Regions from separate parts of the Homo sapiens genome. Here all the other regions are linked to region 4. Evidence: promoter capture Hi-C in 16 types of primary human blood cells and fetal thymus (Javierre and others, 2016). All regions are on one chromosome and are shown on one strand. The core of a region is centred on a gene start or on the middle of the fragment in contact, and the rest is flanking DNA. Distances in the headings are between cores, read along the strand shown.

Region 1 (2,700 bases), core at 40-2,539, 740 kb after region 4:
TATAAATCAATCTGAGATCATAGAAGTTGCTGAAGGTCAGAGAGCTACTTAGCTCAGGAAGCATGGGTGAAACCCAAGTGTTCTGACTATCATCTCCAGAATTATTTTTCAATAAAGATGTCATACTTACACACATCTAATGCACTTAGAGGTTCAAGGTTTAATTTCAGCTAATGCTTCATGTTTCAACAGGCAACTCTATAACCAATTCAACAGAAATTTAACAATACACTGAACAGAGCCACTCAAAGCTTCATCGTATTCAAAGCAAAAGCTGCTTTGGACTTTCCAGAGCAAACTCAAAGTGGCAAATTAGTAAGACAGGGGGTCAGGGAGAGACCCCTGGAAACTATGAAGATTTTTGAAATGCAATTTGCTTACGTGTATTTCATTTCCACATTCTCTTTGTAATTCCCAAAATTCTCTTTAGAAAGCAGGTTTCCAATTAAGAATATTTTACATCTCTTTCTATACCATCATTTAAAAAATCAAAAACCTCTACAACAGTTCATTTGTGTGTCAAGTCTGCCATCTTCTGTTGATAAATGGAATTACAGCTGTTGACAAAACCAATTTACAAATCCTAACTTACACTCCTTAGATTTTAATTTTTACCTACTTGCATTGGGACCTATGTTCATCAAACCTTTCCCCCTTATAAGACTCTTTCCAATCACGCAAATAAGTTCAATCGTTGTAGGTATTAGTCTTCCCTCGCCTGACAAGACTGCTGTCACGGGTAATACAGACTACACAAGGAAGTCTTCTCAAAGAAAATAACTCTATCAACACTTAGTCCCTGTGTCTACAATTTGTTCACAGAATTTTATACAACCCAAAAGATAAGCCTCAAATGGCTTTTTTGCTTTTGTATTTTTCCATAACAGAAATGAGCCATGATTTCACAGGAGGTGACAAACATCCCATGGATGGATTTATAGATTCCCACCAATACAAAAATCTGAACGTTGAGGAGGTGGCAATGGTGACTGTATTTGCTTCCTACTGCTGCTCTGACAAATCACCACACATTTAGTGGCTTAAAACATAAGCTTATTATCTATAATTCTGAAGGTATGAATTCCAAAATGGGTCTTCCTGAGCTAAGACCGAGAGATGTCAGTCAGGCAGTATGCCTTCTGGAAGCTGCAAGGGAATGTTGACTTCCTGCTTTCTAGGGCTCCCCTGCACTCCTTGGTTTGTGGCCCCTCGCTCTATCTTTGGACCAGCAGTATACCATCTTCAGCTCTCTGACCCCCGCTCCCCTCTCCTAAGGACCCTACTGATTAGACTGGGCCCACGTGGATAATCCAGAAAACTCTTTCCACCTCAACATTTTTTTTTTTTTTTTGAGATGGAGTCTCACTCTGTCACCCAGGCTGGAGTGCAGTGGCGCGATCTGCAAGCTCCACCTCCCAAGTTCACCCCATTCTCCTGCCTCAGCCTCCCGAGTAGCTGGGACTACAGGCGTCCACCACCATGCCCGACTAACTTTTTTTTGCTTTTTTTTTTAGAGACAAGCTTTCACCGTGTTAGCCAGGACGGTCTTGATCTCCTGACCTCACGATCCGCCCGCCTTAGCCTCCCAAAGTGCTGGGATTACAGGCATGAGCCACTGCGCCCGGCCCCCATCTCAACATTCTTAATATTATCTGCCAAATCTCTTTCCCGTGTGAAGAAACACATTCAGAGATTTGGGGACTAGGACATATTTATGGGGGGGGGGGGGCATTATTTTGCCTATCACAGTAACCAACGGCAAATTTTGGAACCTGACCTTTTAAGAAACCAGTGATGTGAATCCTTACTGCACAAGTAGTATACTTACCGCTACTTCTGCCATTTTTTAAATACTACATGAAAAAGAAAACAGAGGTGCTCCTGGAAGTATACAGAGAAATATTTATCTAATTACTTATTCTACAGTGGTGTTTTATTATTAGCTGGGAATAATAATAGCTGGGAAACTTGGAGCACATCACTAAACTTCTTTGAATTTCAATTTTTTCACCTTCTGAATAGATACCTTTCCCAAAACTAGGAAATTCTAAAAACGTGCCGCATTCAGCAACTTGTGTGAAATGGGGCTAGACCCAATGTTTATTCAATATTTTGTGTGTCAGATGCTAGGCTGGACACTTTGTTAAGTGCTGTATAATTTCATCCTTGTAAGAACTGTGACTGGGATGGCATTAATCCTATTTTTTCAAGATGAGGAAAAGAGCATTTCAGTGAAGGCAAGTAAATGGCCTACAGACAAATAAGTGGACAAGTCACAAATCTGACCCCGATCTGTGTAACTTGACAGCCCATGGTCCATACCTTGCTACCTCCCTACAGACATCCTCAAATACTCCCTAGTTATTTAACAGATGGATCCAACTTACTTATATGCTCCTCAAAAACGGGGATCAAATTTCTTATTCGGTGTCTCTTAGCACCTATTAATAGTATTAGCTATACAACTCAAATATTGAAAAGCACACAATCACAAACCAAAGCAAATAAGTGACAGTTGCATTTAATTCAAGAACCCTAATCTTAACAAGGCAATATTTTAGGAAATAAAGGTTTGTCACTGACAGAGTTCAGGCTCGCTTGGAAGTGGCCAATCCTAACCTCCTTTGGTATTTTGGTCCTTTGAGAGTAGTATTCAGTCTTTCCATTTACAATGCAGTGGCAATAACTGACCAAGTTACA
Region 2 (2,700 bases), core at 61-2,560, 770 kb after region 4:
TATGATTCTTGAATTCAAACTTACATGTTAATTTTTTAAAGTAGAATATAAAATTATACCTATATGACCTCAGCTATGAAAAAGTTGCATAAGCACTTTTAAAGTGCTCAGTAAACAGTTAAGTGTTACCACCACTTGGAATTATATAATTAAGTTTCGTTTAGCATCTGCCTCCTACTAGACTCTAAATCCCTGAAGGTGGGGGACCATATTTTTCAGGCATTCAACCCCAAATAACACAGCAAAGGCCAACAAATGTATCTGGTTAAGCATGTAAAAGACACCTGATTTGGGGAGGTGAGATAACTGTGGGTGTAACTTTTATCTTTCCTTTATTTGGAATTTAATTAATGTTACCCAAATTTTGTCTGTATTACAAAAGATTTAATATTTAGAGCAACTTTCAACATGTAGTAGTAGGGTTTGGAAGTGGTAACAAAACCACATTAACAAGTCACTTACAGCTAAGTTATCAAATACTAAAACTTTCCAAGTATGCCTTTCTTAAACAGAAAGAAAAATGAAAAAAGAAAGGTAGTCCCATCTGTGGGTAGTAGAGATGCACAAAAAAATGCCTCCATCACAGTGGTGGTTATCAGTTGTGGTCCTTGCATGATTGGTGCTCTCCAAGCAGTGCTTTGCATGCTCCACGGGCTGAGCAAAATTTGGAATATACTTGTGTTTAGATAATTTCTTGCTCAACACAAAAGCAAGCAAAAAGGGAAGACCTGCTCACTCTGACGTAAATGCCAAAAATAAACAAGTCACACAAGTCCTGAGAAAGAGAAGCATAATTCTCAATTTTTTATAAATTTGGAGATAATCTTTAAAGATGCCCTTTACTCCAAATTGAAAACTAGGAGGTCACTATCCAGAAAAGATAAGAGGCAAAACAAGAAAAACAACAAAACAGAAAACCTCTTTTAATAGTATACCCAATACTTCATTCGTATTACCTTTCTTCACTCCACCCAAGAACCCCTGCCATCATAACCCACATTGTTCCCCTCAAGTATCCTACTGCCTGTAAGGTGGTTCTCAGCAGAAGGGCAGGTCCAGTGAGAAGACACCCAAGTATCACGAAAAAGCTCCCCAGATGACAGCACCAGCCAAAAATCACCTCACTAAAAACAGGAAAACAAAAACTACAAGCGGTCCTCACTTTGCATGGTACCTACATACATGAATTTCAGTTACCATGATTTACTTAAATAACATGAATCTCCCAATGACCCAGGTCAAATTTCAGTTACCACAGCATATTAACTATGAGTAACTGGATAAAGTGTAAACTTCACCACTTGTTCAGTCCACAAATCACAATACAATTAACAGAAATCACTGCCTATTACTCAGTTTACGCACAGACAGCAAATAGTTGTTACCTCATCTCCCAGTAATAAATGCACACGACATTTTATAAAAATAGACAGAAAACTGATGAACAAAGATGAAAATGCAAAAAAAATGAAAAGTGGTAACACAAAGTTAAACAAAAATCAGACATAAATGGTATTAGAGAACAAACAGCTGGCCATGGAAATATTCACACTGCTGTCATTAATCTAGATAAGTAACTAGAAAAAATAAGTGAGAGCAAATTTAACATAAATAAGGAAAGTAGTTGTGATGAAAAGGATGAAAATGTCCCAGACTAAGTTATGTCAGCAAGTCTTCGCATTAAACGAACTCACAACATTGAAAGCACAAAAAATAAAATGTTAGAAGTTGATCCAAACTGAGAAAGCAGTATGACAACTTGCCAAGGCATAAAAAGATGCTTCTTCTATAATACATAATGAGAACACAAGCAAATGTTCAAACTACTGTTGATAAGGTTTTGTCCAAAAAATTAAGTTATTAATGTTTCTAATGTTTTTAATTACAGTGTACTAAATAAACATCAGCTTTGCAATTTTTCCCCTATATATTACAACCAAAGCGTTTTTAATGTTTTGACAAAAATTCTTAGGGTGGGCCAGGTGTGGTGGCTCATACCTGTGACACCTCTTTCTACAAAAAAAATTTTCTAAAAACTGTAAGAACAACATGGGCTGGGCTCAGTGGCTCATGCCTGTAATCTCAGCACTTTGAAGCTGAGTCAGGAGGATTGCTTGAGGCCAGTACTTCAAAACCAGCCCTGGCAACACAGCAAGACCCTGTCTCTACAAAACAAGAAAATTTTTAATTAAAAAATTAGCCAGGCGTGGTTGGTGCATGCCTCTAGTCCCAGCTACTCAGGAGGCTGAGGTGGGAGGATCACTTGAGCAGAGACAGCACCACTGCACTCCAGCCTGGGCAACAGAGGAAGACCTTGTCTCAAAAAAAAAAGAAAAGAACGCACATGAAATGGTTTGGCTCTGGGTCCCCAACCAAATCTCATCTTGAATTGTAGCTCCCATAATTCCCACATGTTGTGGGAGGGGCCTGGTGGGAGGTAATTGAATCATGGTGGCAGGTCTTTCCCATTCTGTTCTGGTGATAGTGAATAAGTCTCACAAGATCTGATGATCTCATAAAGGGGAGTTCTCCTGCATACGCTCTCATCTGCAGCCATGTAAGACGTGACTTTGCTCCTCCTTTGCCTTCTACCATGATTGTGAGGCCCCTCTGCCAGCCATGTGGAACTGTTAGTCCATTAAACCTCTTCCCTTTATAAATTACCCAGTCTTGGGTATGTCTTTATCAGCAGTGTGAGAA
Region 3 (2,700 bases), core at 49-2,548, 700 kb after region 4:
ACAGATGTACCTCTCAGAAATTTCTCATTATATTAAAACTTATCCACAATTTATGACAAGGAGTTTTACTAGAGAAAATATTAATTTCACCAGCTTAGTAATAATATCCAACATTTCATTTTCCTCCTGATATACCTATCAAATGGTTTTGGTATTTAAGCTCTTCTTTTTTTCAAAACAGAAGAAAATCTGTTAACTGAACTTTGTATCACCTAGTCCAGTGGTTCTCACACTTCAGAATGCATCAGAATCATGCAGAGGGTGTATAACACAAATTCTGGGCCTCACCCCAAGTTTCTGATTCAGAAGATCTCAAGTGGGGACTTAGATTCTGCATTTCTAGCAAGTTCCTAGGGAATGCAGCTGCTATTCGTGGAGGGACTGTACTTTGGGAACCAATGATCTACTCAGTATTTTCCTTCTTTTCATAATTTGCAAATTTGATAACGAGGAAATGATATGCTATATCCTTTAAAGACAGACATCTTTTGAGAACTTAGAATTAAAGAGAAATTGACAAAAAGGAAATCTAATCTAAGGCACAGCACAGCCCTCAAAGATGATCTAGTCTAGGATTCAGAAAACTTTTTCTGTAAAGAGTCAGATAATAAATAGCTTAGGCTTTATGGTCCATACAGTCTCTGTTACAACTACTCAACTCTGCCACTGTTGTGTGAAAGCAGACAGACAATACATAAATGAAAGAAAGTGGCTGCATGCCAATAAAGCTTTATTACAAAAACAGGCTGTGATCTGGATTAGGCCCACAGGTCATAGTTTACCAACTATTTTTTAAAAAAGGAAATCAATACCCAGAGAGATTAAACAACTTCAAAAGGCACAAGATAGCGAGTGGCAAAACTGCAACTAGACCTTCAGTGTCCTGATGTCTGATGTACTAAGGAAGCTACTGTTATAGTAATATTTTGATAAAGAACAGCCACAAATGGAATGCATTACAAAACCTCATGTAGCTTAATGATCAAAAAGAAAAAATGACTTTACTAAGCAAAAGAGCATCTCAGTTCTAGAATTAATGCCAGACATTCTTTTTTTTTTTTTTTTTTTTGAGATGGAGTTTCACTGTTGTTGACCAGGCTGGAGGGCAATGGCACGATCTTGGCTCACTGCAACCTCCACCTCCCGGATTCAAGCAATTCTCCTGCCTCAGCCTCCCGAATAGCTGGGATTACAGGCACCCACAACCATGCCCAGCTATTTTTTTTGTATTTTTAATAGAGATAGGGGTTTCATCATGTTGGCCTGGCTGGTTTTGAACTTCTGACCTCAGGTGATCCACCCGCCTCAGCCTCCCAAAGTGCTGGGATTACAGGCGTGAGCCACCGCACCTCGCTCAATGCCAAACATTCTTATTCTTATTATTACTTATAAATGGGAGGCTTCCACCATTGGACAACAATCTGGACTCTTGTCACATGGCTTCCTGCAGCCTACACTAGGTTGGAGCAGGGCCTACGCCAGTCAAGCCTTCTGTTCAGGGAGTGTGGAAAACAGAATCGAGGACTTCTCAGTTCTTACCCTCTTGGTCCTGCACCTTTCTCATCCCATCTGCAATCCATTTTATGCCATTCGTTAAAAAAATTCTTCCCAGTACTAAAATTATGGTTAAGAGCCAAAAGAGGTAGTAAACTATGAAACTTAAGTTAAAAACAATGCTTCTGTTCAAAGTTTTATTTTCATTCTAGTGATTAAATAATTATTAAGTTAAATATAATATTTAGCTAATAAAAGTAAAGCAGACATTTATCTTCACTACTTAGATACCTAAAAGTATACTATGCATACACACACAATACATTCACATATGAACACATACTCCCTATGCTTTCATAGTTGCCAAAGCTTTTACTCTTAAAACTGATTATTTAAATAAGCAATATATTTTAGCAATTAATAAAGTAAATTTTATGTATGGCCTTACAACTATTTTATGACAGTTTATTTTTAAAAATAAAGCAAATGCATGTATATCAGGAAAATAAAATAACTTGATTTTAAGTATCTGAGATAAAGTTTTGAACATGTTTGATGTACTCTAAACCATGCATGGAAAAGCATCTGTTATTTACAGATCAAAGCAAACCTGAGTATCCTAAAACAACTAGAGTGAAAAATTCCCAAATTTAATTTCATCCCTGTCCACATGCTTCTTTGAACTAATAATTCAGAGAATTGGTCAGTATGTTGAACTAATTAGCATGCTTAATGCTTGCCAACTTTGATGGCTCCAATTCTTTAAGAAATTTTTTTTTTATTTTCCAAGACGGAGTCTTGCTCTGCCACCCAGGCTGCAGTGCAATGGTGCGATCACGGCTCATTGCAACCTCCGCCTCCCGGGTTCAAGCTATTCTCCTGCCTCAGCCTCCTGAGTAGCTGGGATTACAGGTGCCTGCCACCATGCCCAGCTAATTTTTGTATTTTTATTAAAGATGAGGTTTCACCATGTTGGTCAGGCTGGTCTCGAACTCCTGACCTCGTGATCCACCCATCTCGGCTTCCCAAAGCTGGGATTACAGGCGTGAGCCACCGTGCCCAGACAAGAAATGGAATTTAAAAAATAGTTTTAAAAACACACACATGGCCGGGCACGGTGGCTTGCACCTGTAATCCCAGCACTTTGGGAGGCCAAGGCAGGCGGATCACGAGGTCAGGAGTTCAAGATCAGCCTGGCCAGCATGG
Region 4 (2,700 bases), core at 110-2,609:
AGAAATTCTAGATCAGCACTGTCCAATAAAATTGTCAATGATGAAAATGCTGTATTTCTGTGCTGCCCAATATGGCAGCCACTAGCTGCAGGTGACCAGCAAGCACTCAAAAAGTATTTAGTGTACCTGGGGAACTAAATGTTTTATTTTATTTAACTTATAATTTAAGTTTAAACAGCCACACATGGCTACTGGCTTCCATACTGACCAGCACAAGTCTAGATTTTCTGGTCATTTACCTCAAACACACACACACAGGCCCACTAACTTAAAAAGCAATCACCCGAAATCTAGAAGAATCCCTCAAGTCAAAAGAAGGTCTTAGTTAAGAGAGGACTTGTTTTCTAGTCTCAAGAAACAAAGTCATTGGTTTCATTTCATTATCGCATCTCAATATAAACATCAAGTGGACAATACTGAGGGGGAAAGGGAGCTTGGTGCAGATACCAACAGAAGTTCCTACCATCATCATACCTGAAGTAAGGGCTGATTGCAGCAAGAACGTTTCTATGACAGGAAAATGTTTTCCCGTGATCCACTTCCACTACAATGTCTGTCAACTGTCCTTCATCGTACATTGTTTTGAGTTGCTTAAGAATACTGCAAGCATGGAAGGGGTCCATGGCATCGCTGGCTGGGTCTGAAGATGGAATCCCATTCGGTGTTGGGGAAGACTTACTTAAATCTAGGAGGAGAAAAATCGTACAACTACAAGAAGTGCCGAGCCAGTTACGGCATCGCGGGATTTTTCTGTTTGTGTGTCTGCTTGCTAGGCTTTTTCCCCCTACAAGATATATACAAATGTCTGTGGATATACGCACGACCTCGTGGGACCGCGAGTTAAGGATCTGGGAGACAGAGGGCGGAGCGCGATCGGCGGAACAAGTTCAAAGGCCAGCCTGCTCCTGCGGAGCCCGGCGAGCCCGGCACCCGTGCTCGCGGAGGAAACGCGCTCGCAGCCCAGGAGAGGCGTCTGCGCGGACTCCGCCGAGAGCCGAGGGCAGAGCCTCACGAGGGAAGCTCGAACAACGGCGGCCGCCGGTGCCCCCTCAAGCCGCCTCCCGCTGCCTCCTGGGGCGCAGCGCCGGCGGGTACCCAGCCTCCCCATCCCGGTCCCGCCGGACCGCCCACCGCCCTCCGCACCATTCATCCTCCCTCTTCTCATTCCCCTCCACCGCTTCATCCTTCCCTCTAGCTCCGCACCGCTACGTCCTCATCCCACTGCCTGTGGCCGGCCCCGGCCCACCTTCCCCCTCACCTCCCTCCACGCCGCCCTGGCCACCACACGACCCACCTGCCGACGCGGCCATTTCTCGATGGGGCCCCGACTCCAGCTATTTAAAAAGGAAATGTCATTTCGCTTCTCTAGCTCCCGGGTTCCGGCTCTTCTAAGCTTCCCCTGGCCAATGGGGTGTCCTGTGCATCTGGCTCCACCCCTAGCCTCCGAATTCCTGGCGCTGATTGGCCACGACGCGAGCACATGCGTGTCGGGAAATGTAGTTTGATTGCCCCGGCTCCCGCGTGGTCCGGGTCGGGCGGAGGCCCAAGCCGGGAATTCCTATTGGCTGATTCGGATGGAGGTGGAGAGCAGGGAGCTGGCCAGCCTGTGGCCGTCGAGCGCGCAGTGCCTGCCGGGAGAGGTAGTCTTCTGGCGGAGGAGAACTGTCATTCTGAGGGGCTGGGGTAGGGAAAGCTCTTCAAGTGCGAATTTCCCCATTTTAGGCCTCTCTCCTGGCCCCCGGCACATTTTTTTACCTTTTTCTTCTTCCGTAAACTTCCTGCCAGTGACTAGCTTCCGGTATGAAATCAAGCTCTGCGTGAGAGCTGTAAAACCAGAAAAATGTGGAAATGGACAGGAGGGCTGTTGTCCAAAAATGCAAAGGAAATCTGACGTCCCACCCTGAAGAAAAATATCACAAGGCCCAAAAGCAAGGCGTCTCTGATGAGTCACCTATGACACCCAATTGAAATAGCATCGCCTTGGCCGGGTGCTCTGGTTTCCACAGATTAACTTGGTCTGGTTACAGCGGCTGCTTAGGATCTTCAACTCCCACTGGTGCCTTGCTTTTCTAGCACACCCAGAGAACACCTGTTCCTCACGTGAACATTACAAGGGGATCCAAGATGCTTTACTTTTTGCTCTTGGGAAATGGAGGGGATACAATACTAAGTATTCCGGAATTTCCTTTGAAAAAATACCGGAATGCCCTGAGCCCGGAGCCAGGGATGATTACTGAAGCCCTGGCTCTTTAGTCACTATATGTGAGAACTGACATAAGACCTTTCAACCCCTGAGCGCTTAGATCCTTCATCTGTAACGTGAAGTAATAGTAATCCGTACTCCATGGATTTCATAGGCTGCAACCTTTTGGAAAGAAAATCAAAATTTTACTGTTGACGAATTTTTATTTACTCATCTTGTGTTTCTAACATCTAACGGGGTGCCTGGCACATTATAGATGTTTCATATTTTAAAAATAAATGTAAGGTGCAAATGAGCTAACATTGGGAATGCTATTTCTAGATGTTAAAATGTAAGGAAGTATCAGCGAATGGGAAGAATTTCTAGTAGACATATAGTTAGCCCGTGTGCATAACTTTTCTAGCACTGAAAAGATCAAACCGTTGAACTTCTTGATAAAGAAAGGATCTTGGAATTTAAATTGTGATTGAGAAAGAGAAATAATTATGAAAAACAAT
Region 5 (2,700 bases), core at 120-2,619, 940 kb before region 4:
GATCAACTTTAAATACCAGCTTAGAATTATGAATAGTTACACAGGAGTAGGTACTTTTAATCTTTTTAAAATTTAAATAGGTAAAAAGGAACATATAGGTTGGGTGCGGTGCCTCATGCCTGTAATCCCAGCACTTTGGGAGGCCAAGGTGGGCGGATCATGAGGTCAGGAGTTTGAGACCAGCCTGGCCAATATGGTGAAACCCCATCTCTACTAAAAATACAAAAAAATTAGCTGGGCATGGTGGTATGTGCCTGTAGTCCCAGCTACTCGGGAGGCTGAGGCAGAAGAATCACTTGAACCCAAGAAGCATAGGTTGCAGTGAGCCGAGATGGCACCACTGCATTCCAGACTGGGGGACAGAGCGAGACTCCAACTCAAAAAACAAAAAAAAATACCGAAAAATTAAGTTTATCTTCTTTCGCTGTTCCATTTTAAAGGCAGTGTCATCATTGCCAGTGTGTTACGTATGCTTCCAGAGATGCTCCATTTGTTTTGTATATATATTGTACATGCATGTGTATTTGCATGTATGTTTACCTGCTCCCCTCCTTGATGCTTTGCACTTTACAGTTTGTCTTGGAACTCATTATCGGTATGTATAGATTTTAAAGCAGAGAGATTTGAAATGAGATGTTCCCAGGCCAAGGCATACGGGGGTTAATGGTTGAGTGACGGTAACGGCCAGTCCTCCAGTAAATAGAAGACTGTTAAAAGCTTCACATTTTCTATTCACTTTTCAGTACTTTTTTATTCCTTTCACTGACAGGGTATGATTGCCAGAAAGTTGGGGATCATTAGAGGCCATTTCTTTCCCTCTCTCTTTGAAGCAACGTTTAATGGACCTATAGTACATGCTTAAGCCTGCAGTCGTCACTGATTTAAATAAAAAATCAGTCCCAAAACCTGAAAGGGCTGAGAGAATGGGACTTCAATTTGGACCTAGGTCTTATAAGGGTTTAATTATTTGTTTATGGAAATATTTTATTGTCTTAATGATATTAGTCATTATTTAATAAGAAGTCATGTATTGCCTAAGACTGTCTTACGTGGGGGATCAATTTACAACCTTAAAAGAAAACCAAATGCTGAGAAAAGCAGCAACCAAGTGTCAGAATGTCTGGTTTATAGACCCCAAGCCCAGAAATAATTAGATCATGCAGGCAGGGATCTTACAGATGCAAGTACTGTGTTCAAAGAACAAGGCCACACTTACTCAGAAGCCAAGTTTATCCAACTCAGGATTCTGCATCTTTCAGAGGAACATTTGTGGCTCGACGATTGCCCATCATGAAATCACCTTTAAAAATAGAATGATGCACCACAAGCACATCTAAATTCCTTTTAGCATCTAGTACAGAAAAACAAATCAGTGATGTAGTTTCTAAATTTCTGAAACAGTTTCTAGTCTGTATTATGTATTGAAGAGACATGGCTTGGGTTTGGTTTGGTTTTGGTTTTGGTTTTTTTATTCTTTTCATCTATACCACCTACTTTAGATGACTTTAGCTACATCCTGAAGATATAAAGTCAATAACATAGTAGCAAGTTATTATAAGAAATTAAATCTGCAGTTCTTTTTTAATAATCAGATTAAATTCAGGATACATTTCCTAACATAAGAATTTCAAAGTGCTTAAAATCTGGGACAGATTTTTTTTCAGCAATGTTACGGGAACTAACGTGGGAGGAAGAAGGGGGGGAGGCAGAAGAAAAGGAAGAAAAGGAGGAAGGAGAGGGGGAAAAAGGCAGGTTGAGGGGAGGAGGAGGGAGGGAGAGAGGAAGAGAACCAAGATAGCCTACTCCCAAAAGTAGTGTTTCCATGGAGAAGCAATGCTATTAGAGACACTTAGCTTGCAAGATGACTAGGACACATTCTTAACTTTATATTGGAAGATTACCATGTATGCTAGTTTTATCTCATATGAGGCAGCAAATTTTCTTAGAATACCAACAAGTGGGCTTCAGAGAATTATATAGTGAGGACACAGTGATCACTACAAAAATAAACAAAAGCTTTCGGTTTATTTCTCACTGGGAGAGAGTCTGTAAAAGGCTGAACTTTTTGAAAAGTGAAATCTGATGCAAAAACTTCATCTAAGGAAACATTAGCTTGAACATCCGGGGAGGTGGGAGTAGAAATCGTCTCACACTATTTTTTCCTCTCTATTATATTTTCTCTTCCTGATAATTTTGGGAATAACATCATGTCCTATATTCTGTCAGCTACTGCTAATGCTCTGAACTTTCAGTTCCTGCCTGGCAGGGATCCATCAATCCACAGTCTTTTCACTATTAAACCTATTTCTCAATGTAGGTCACTTGAGTCCAAATTACTCAGTTACAGATAAAATATAACCCTCCACTAGAGGGATGTATTTTTATCCCAACATTCAAAGAGTTGCCTTTTTAACATGGCCTAGTGTTAATGGAGGTTACACTCATAACTCTTCAAGAAGAAACTATAACTTAGAAATCTACTCTCCCCTTGATAATTAGGTTTAACTTCTATTAACATAAAATGAGAATTATGTGACTTAGAGGAAGTGAGATAAGGTGCCTTAGTTTAAACTAATGATGAAAATTGTGACTTCTCCATATTGTGGAAGTCTCTTCTGAAATCATACTAGCATTTAGGGAAATGCCACTATAACCCCCACAGCTGTTGCCTAGAACCCAAATATTGAGAAAGAAATTAGG
Region 6 (2,700 bases), core at 148-2,647, 730 kb after region 4:
TCTGAGGGCTCTGTTCTGTTCCACTGATCTATATCTCTGTTTTGGTACCAGTACCATGCTGTTTTGGTTACTGAAGCCTTGTAGTATAGTTTGAAGTCAGGTAGTGTGATGCCTCCAGCTTTGTTCTTTTGGCTTAGGACTGACTTGGCGATGCGGGCTCTTTTTTGGTTCCATATGAACTTTAAAGTAGTTTTTTCCAATTCTGTGAAGAAAGTCATTGGTAGCTTGATGGGGATGGCATTGAATCTAAAAATTACCTTGGGCAGTATGGCCATTTTCACGATATTGATTCTTCCTATCCATGAGCATGGAATGTTCTTCCATTCGTTTGTATCCTCTTTTATTTCATTGAGCAGTGCTTTGTAGTTCTCCTTGAAGAGGTCCTTCACGTCCCTTGTAAGCTAGATTCCTAAGTATTTTATTCTCTTTGAAGCAATTGTGAATGGGAGTTCACTCATGATTTGGCTCTCTGTCTATTATTGGTGTATAAGAATGCTTGTGATTTTTGTACATTGATTTTGTATCCTGAGACTTTGCTGAAGTTGCTTATCAGCTTAAGGAGACTTTGGGCTGAGACAATGGGGTTTTCTAGATATACAATCATGTCGACCAATAACAGGATCTGAAATTGTGGCAATAATAGCTTACCAACCAAAAAGAGTCCAGGACCAGATGGATTCACAGCCGAATTCTACCAGAGGTACAAGGAGGAACTGGTACCATTCCTTCTGAAACTATTCCAATCAATAGAAAAAGGGAATCCTCCCTAACTCATTTTATGAGGCCAGCATCATCCTGATACCAAAGCCAGGCAGAGATACAACCAGAAAAGAGAATTTTAGACCAATATCCTTGATGCACATTGACGCAAAAATCCTCAATAAAATACTGGCAAACCGAATCCAGCAGCACACCAAAAAGCTTATCCACCATGATCAAGTGGGCTTCATCCCTGGGATGCAAGGCTGCTCCAATATACACAAATCAATAAATGTAATCCAGCATATAAACAGAACCAAAGACAAAAACCACATGGTTATCTCAACAGATGCAGAAAAGGCCTTTGACAAGATTCAAAAACCCTTCATGCTAAAAACTCTCAATAAATTAGGTATTGATGGGACTTATCTCAAAATAATAAGAGCTATCTATGACAAACCCACAGCCAATATCATACTGAATGGGCAAAAACTGGAAGCACTCCCTTTGAAAACTGGCACAAGACAGCGATGCCCTCTCTCACCACTCCTATTCAACACAGTGTTGGAAGTTCTGGCCAGGGCAATTAGGCAAGAGAAACAAATAAAGGGTATTCAAATAGGAAGAGAGGAAGTCAAATTGTCCCTGTTTGCAGCAGTAATTAATTTTTGAACAAGAAATGAAGGTAATTTCAAACATCAGTGCATGCAAAGGTAACAGGTGAGTGATCAGGGATGGGGTAGGTCTATTTTAGCTGGAGTGATCACAGGAGGTCCCTCAGAGAAGGGGCATGTAAACTAACACCTAGATAAAGGAAAATCACGCAAACGTGATAATATGCACTTACAAGCCACAGTTCTTCATGAACACTTCCATCAACACAGATTCCTTACACTTGCTTATTTCCTCTAATTAATTTATTTTTAATATCATGTAGACTTCCAGTTTCCCCAAACTCCTGGCACTAACGCCTATCTAAAGGCTTAAAGACTACAGATATAAATATGGATTACTCATTTTAAATACATATTTTCCTCCCCAGAAAAAATTTATCTGTTTATAAAATGTAAAATACACAGCTCACCATAAAGGTTAAGTTCATGGATTCTGGAGTCCTCTGATCTCTCCCTTACTGGTATGAGACCCTGGGCCAACCACAAACTTACCAAGCTTTAGTTTCTGTCAAGTAGGGATCGCATTTTGGGCTGCTGTGAGGATTATGTGAAATAATGTATGTAAACAACTTAGCACAGTGACTGGAACATTTTAAGTACTTGGTAAATGTAAACAGTTTATTTCCATCTAAAATGACACACATTTTTTAGGTGTTTACATATGAATATATCAATATAAGAAGTATTCTCAGATTTTAACTTTAAAATCAAAACTACATATAAAAGTAAATAAATCAGAAGTAAATTCATGTCTTCAATTTCAGTGAGACCACCAAATAATTTTTAAAGATGAGTTTCTACACTAGTGCCCAAAAGAACAAAGGTGGCAGAAAAAGAAAACGAACAGACATTTCCATTTACAGAGGAGAATGACCAAAAAAAAAAATAGTGGTACAGACAATTACTCATGGATCTTAACAACGATGGATGCCCACATGTGGGCTGAAGCTAGAGATGTATGAAATGGTCTTCTTTCTGAAGAGATGAAACTTTAGCTGGAAGGGTTTGAAGGGACAGAATACGGCAGATCCTATGGGGTGACTCAGTAACGGTAGTACCACTGCCCCCAGTCCACCCTTTGCCTGACTTCATCTACTACAGTGAAAAGCTACATACTCAACTTCCCAATCCCCACGCAACTCATAAAGGCCCTGAGATACCATCTGTCCCAGGAAAGTTTTTGTTTTCGAGATAAACAAAAGGACAGATAAAGTTAGTACTGCCTCATGCCCTTCCCCTTCTTCATAGTTCTGGAATAGAACTATGATGCCTGAAAGCAGAACAGCCATTTTGTGACCATGAGTCAATTAGCCAGAGCATTAAAGTT
Region 7 (2,700 bases), core at 48-2,547, 790 kb before region 4:
CTGTTCTAGAACATTCTATCTTTTTTATCACTTGTTTAATATTACCTTATACCTCTACAGAATAACTATCTTTTCCAAAACACTTTCACATACACTATCTCATATCATCTATAACTATTCTTTGAACAGAGATACACATTACCATGACACCTTGACCATCAAAGAACAAGGAGAAGGAAGCATCAAATCCAAGGTCAGGAGGAGCAGGAATTAGAACACAGGACACTTTTTTCTACACTGTGCCTCACCCAATTGACAGCATATGACATGATGAGGTTAGGGAAGAATGACAAAATTATGCCTGGCCCATGCCTTTTAGGGGTTTCTGGTAAGCTTTTAAATAACAGCATGGGGTTTGTTTTCAGCTTATGATCTACTCCAATATCCACATTGTTTTTTGCTGTGTCTATGCATAGCCTGGCATTCCAGTCTTGGAATCATGTCTTTCACATTTGTCCATATTGACTTTGCTTCCATATGAAATATTTACATAGGTTTATCACTTTGTCATCATTTAGAGTGGCATCTGTTTGCCAAAAACGAGTCAGGTCTCAGTCACGGCGGCTTGTTGGATCGGTGTGAGCGTCTCTGAAGGAAAGGAGAAATTGCCTTTTGATAGGCTCCCTTAACATTGAGTTACTTTATTAATTATTAACTGACATTTCATTATCTTTTGCTTTCAAATATGTTTTGGGTGTTTTCCTTCATTTCAGACTTACAACAACCTGTGGGATATGTTAAACAACTTTTATTATCCTACGTATTGGCTGTTGGAAGGTGAAATTATTTAAAAATGTCACAGAGCTAAAAGCATGATGACCCAGGTCTCCTACTTCTCAGGCCTGTGGTCTTTTTTATTAAATATGCTAAGTCACCTTATTAAAGAAAACACTAAGAAACAATGACTTTTCAAACATTCCAGAGACTAATTTTGTAATTAAACTAAGAGCTACCACTTGGTGAGCATCTAAGTTTTAATTTACATCTATAAAATAATATTAAAATGCTTTCTGTTCCTTCTGGAAACCAACTAAAGTCCCAAAGTCCCAAGAGACTATAGAAAACCTCATATTTAAAAAAGAAGGTGGCCAAATTGGTCATTTTACCCACACCCCCATCATCTCATCCAGCTCATATAGGCAGAAGACTAGAGTTAAGAGAGATTGTTGAATCAGGAAATTGTTGGCTGAGTGGCTATTGCACAAACCAAGTTAGGGCATTTCCATGAAGTGAACGAAGGCTGATTATCAGATGGGTAGATTAAGGTTTCATTCCCTGGCAGCCTGCTTGCGGGTGGACAGAAAAACATGTTAGTGTTCCCCAACCTATCCCCATTCCCCAAGACAGAACTCGGTGGCAGAATTCTTGAAGGAGGTTTACATGTATTCCTTAACTATGGGAGCATAAGCAAAACAAGAAGCTGCTATTTACTTCCTTTCTGAGGTTTTCTGAGTTTACCATCTGAAGATGGTAAACTGGCTGCAGACAACACCAATAACAGGGAGAGGAGAGGGCAACAGTGGAGACTGTCTACACAGCAAGCATGACAAGTCTCCTGTATACCAAGAATCTTCACCTGTCTCAGACCAACCTGATGGGGCCACACCCAATATCACTCCATGAAGGGAGCAATGAGCCCGCAACAGAAATAAGCTGTGGTGTGAACCACAAAGGCAGCAGCTAGTCAGTGCCTCCAAATCCTCAAGCAGTGGGAGATGAGCATAATTAAATAATTGCCCTGACTTATGTCAAGTTCCCTAGAAGCACAGATTGAGACAGAAATTCACATGCATGAGTTTTAGTGATAGAGATGCCTCAGGAGAAACCAGTAAAAGGAGGGAATAAAACAGAAGAGGGAAGAAAAAAGAGCCAAGCTAGTGTGAGATCACAGGTCCATCTAGCCAGATTCATGGGTAGAAAAGGGCTCTGTAGCTTAAATTACCCATCAGAATCATCTCCTATTGAGGCAAAGGGCTGGCCTTATGTGTCTCTGTCATTCATCCGCTCTTGGCAACTGGAGTGAGAGTGGGCTAAACTAAAAACAATTCTCAGGAGAAGGAGCAGGGGGCAGCAGTGAGCCATTCAATGCTCAGGGTAATGGGGGATGTGTGCAATAGAGCAGACAAGAGGATCCACTTGGGGAACCAACAGCACTCCTACATCCCCTTCTTCCAAAGAGAATGTTCCAAGGTATCTTCCACGTGGTATTTCAGAGAGATGGAGCCCCAGTTACCCATAGTAATGACCTGCTCTAAAGCTTTTGTTGGTTTTTATTTTTTCCTCTTTTCCTCTTTTCTTCACTTGTACTACCTGCACCCACTTTCCAGATAGACTAACTGCACCCATATTCTTCTCTCAAGATCATTTCAGGGGAAATCCAAATTAAGACAACTATCCAAATGAAATGATTGTTATCACTGAAGGTTCCCAACAGCCATGGGCTCCAATTAGATAGCTTTAAGGAGCAAGAAATTAAAGATCGTGTTGGGGGGAAAAACAAAATAAAGCTCTTTCCTGCTTGCACCACTATGAAATTTACATTGGTTAACAAATTGATACCCATTCATTATCTCATTTAATCCTCACAGCAACATTCTGTAGTAGGTATAATTATCTCCACTTTACATGAAAAAACAGAGGTTCAAAGAAGGTAAGGGTGTTGCCCAAAGCCTCCCAGCTGAGATTCAAGTTCATGTTATT

Evidence for each region. Contacts are between HindIII fragments. The CHiCAGO score rates a contact against its expected background, and 5 or more counts as called.
Region 1: a fragment that was not itself captured here is called in contact with the fragment with the promoter of KBTBD8 in region 4 in 2 of 17 cell types (fetal thymus and erythroblasts); the score reaches 7.9 in fetal thymus.
Region 2: a contact is called between a fragment that was not itself captured here and the fragment with the promoter of KBTBD8 in region 4, in 9 of 17 cell types (fetal thymus, total B cells, monocytes and 6 more). The highest score is 26.1, in fetal thymus.
Region 3: a contact is called between a fragment that was not itself captured here and the fragment with the promoter of KBTBD8 in region 4, in 3 of 17 cell types (fetal thymus, total B cells and naive B cells). The highest score is 11.8, in fetal thymus.
Region 5: a contact is called between a fragment that was not itself captured here and the fragment with the promoter of KBTBD8 in region 4, in 1 of 17 cell types (naive CD4 T cells). The highest score is 6.2, in naive CD4 T cells.
Region 6: a fragment that was not itself captured here is called in contact with the fragment with the promoter of KBTBD8 in region 4 in 2 of 17 cell types (fetal thymus and total B cells); the score reaches 5.3 in fetal thymus.
Region 7: a contact is called between a fragment that was not itself captured here and the fragment with the promoter of KBTBD8 in region 4, in 1 of 17 cell types (total B cells). The highest score is 6.7, in total B cells.

The regions. Positions count from the first base shown.
Region 1 is chr3:66,252,053-66,254,752 of GRCh38, reverse strand. The region is part of intron 3 of SLC25A26 (solute carrier family 25 member 26); the gene reads right to left. Among named protein-coding and RNA genes, the nearest start is that of SLC25A26, 32 kb to the right of the region's middle. The HindIII fragment of the contact is 469 bases long and covers 1,055-1,523 here.
Region 2 is chr3:66,226,113-66,228,812 of GRCh38, reverse strand. The region is part of intron 1 of SLC25A26 (solute carrier family 25 member 26); the gene reads right to left. Among named protein-coding and RNA genes, the nearest start is that of SLC25A26, 6.5 kb to the right of the region's middle. The HindIII fragment of the contact is 7,505 bases long and covers 1-2,700 here.
Region 3 is chr3:66,295,698-66,298,397 of GRCh38, reverse strand. The region is part of intron 5 of SLC25A26 (solute carrier family 25 member 26); the gene reads right to left. Among named protein-coding and RNA genes, the nearest start is that of SLC25A26, 76 kb to the right of the region's middle. The HindIII fragment of the contact is 1,135 bases long and covers 731-1,865 here.
Region 4 is chr3:66,996,966-66,999,665 of GRCh38, reverse strand. It overlaps KBTBD8 (kelch repeat and BTB domain containing 8), which reads right to left and starts at 1,359. Exons shown (of 4, transcript NM_032505.3): 1 at 1,295-1,359; 2 at 475-685. The coding sequence starts at 1,310. RefSeq lists a silencer at 942-1,261 and an enhancer at 1,602-1,701. The HindIII fragment of the contact is 2,180 bases long and covers 1-1,395 here.
Region 5 is chr3:67,940,377-67,943,076 of GRCh38, reverse strand. All of the region lies in intron 6 of SUCLG2-DT (SUCLG2 divergent transcript), which reads right to left. Among named protein-coding and RNA genes, the nearest start is that of TAFA1, 63 kb to the left of the region's middle. The HindIII fragment of the contact is 1,299 bases long and covers 720-2,018 here.
Region 6 is chr3:66,271,386-66,274,085 of GRCh38, reverse strand. The region is part of intron 5 of SLC25A26 (solute carrier family 25 member 26); the gene reads right to left. Among named protein-coding and RNA genes, the nearest start is that of SLC25A26, 52 kb to the right of the region's middle. The HindIII fragment of the contact is 948 bases long and covers 924-1,871 here.
Region 7 is chr3:67,789,613-67,792,312 of GRCh38, reverse strand. All of the region lies in intron 3 of SUCLG2-DT (SUCLG2 divergent transcript), which reads right to left. Among named protein-coding and RNA genes, the nearest start is that of SUCLG2-DT, 140 kb to the right of the region's middle. The HindIII fragment of the contact is 1,924 bases long and covers 336-2,259 here.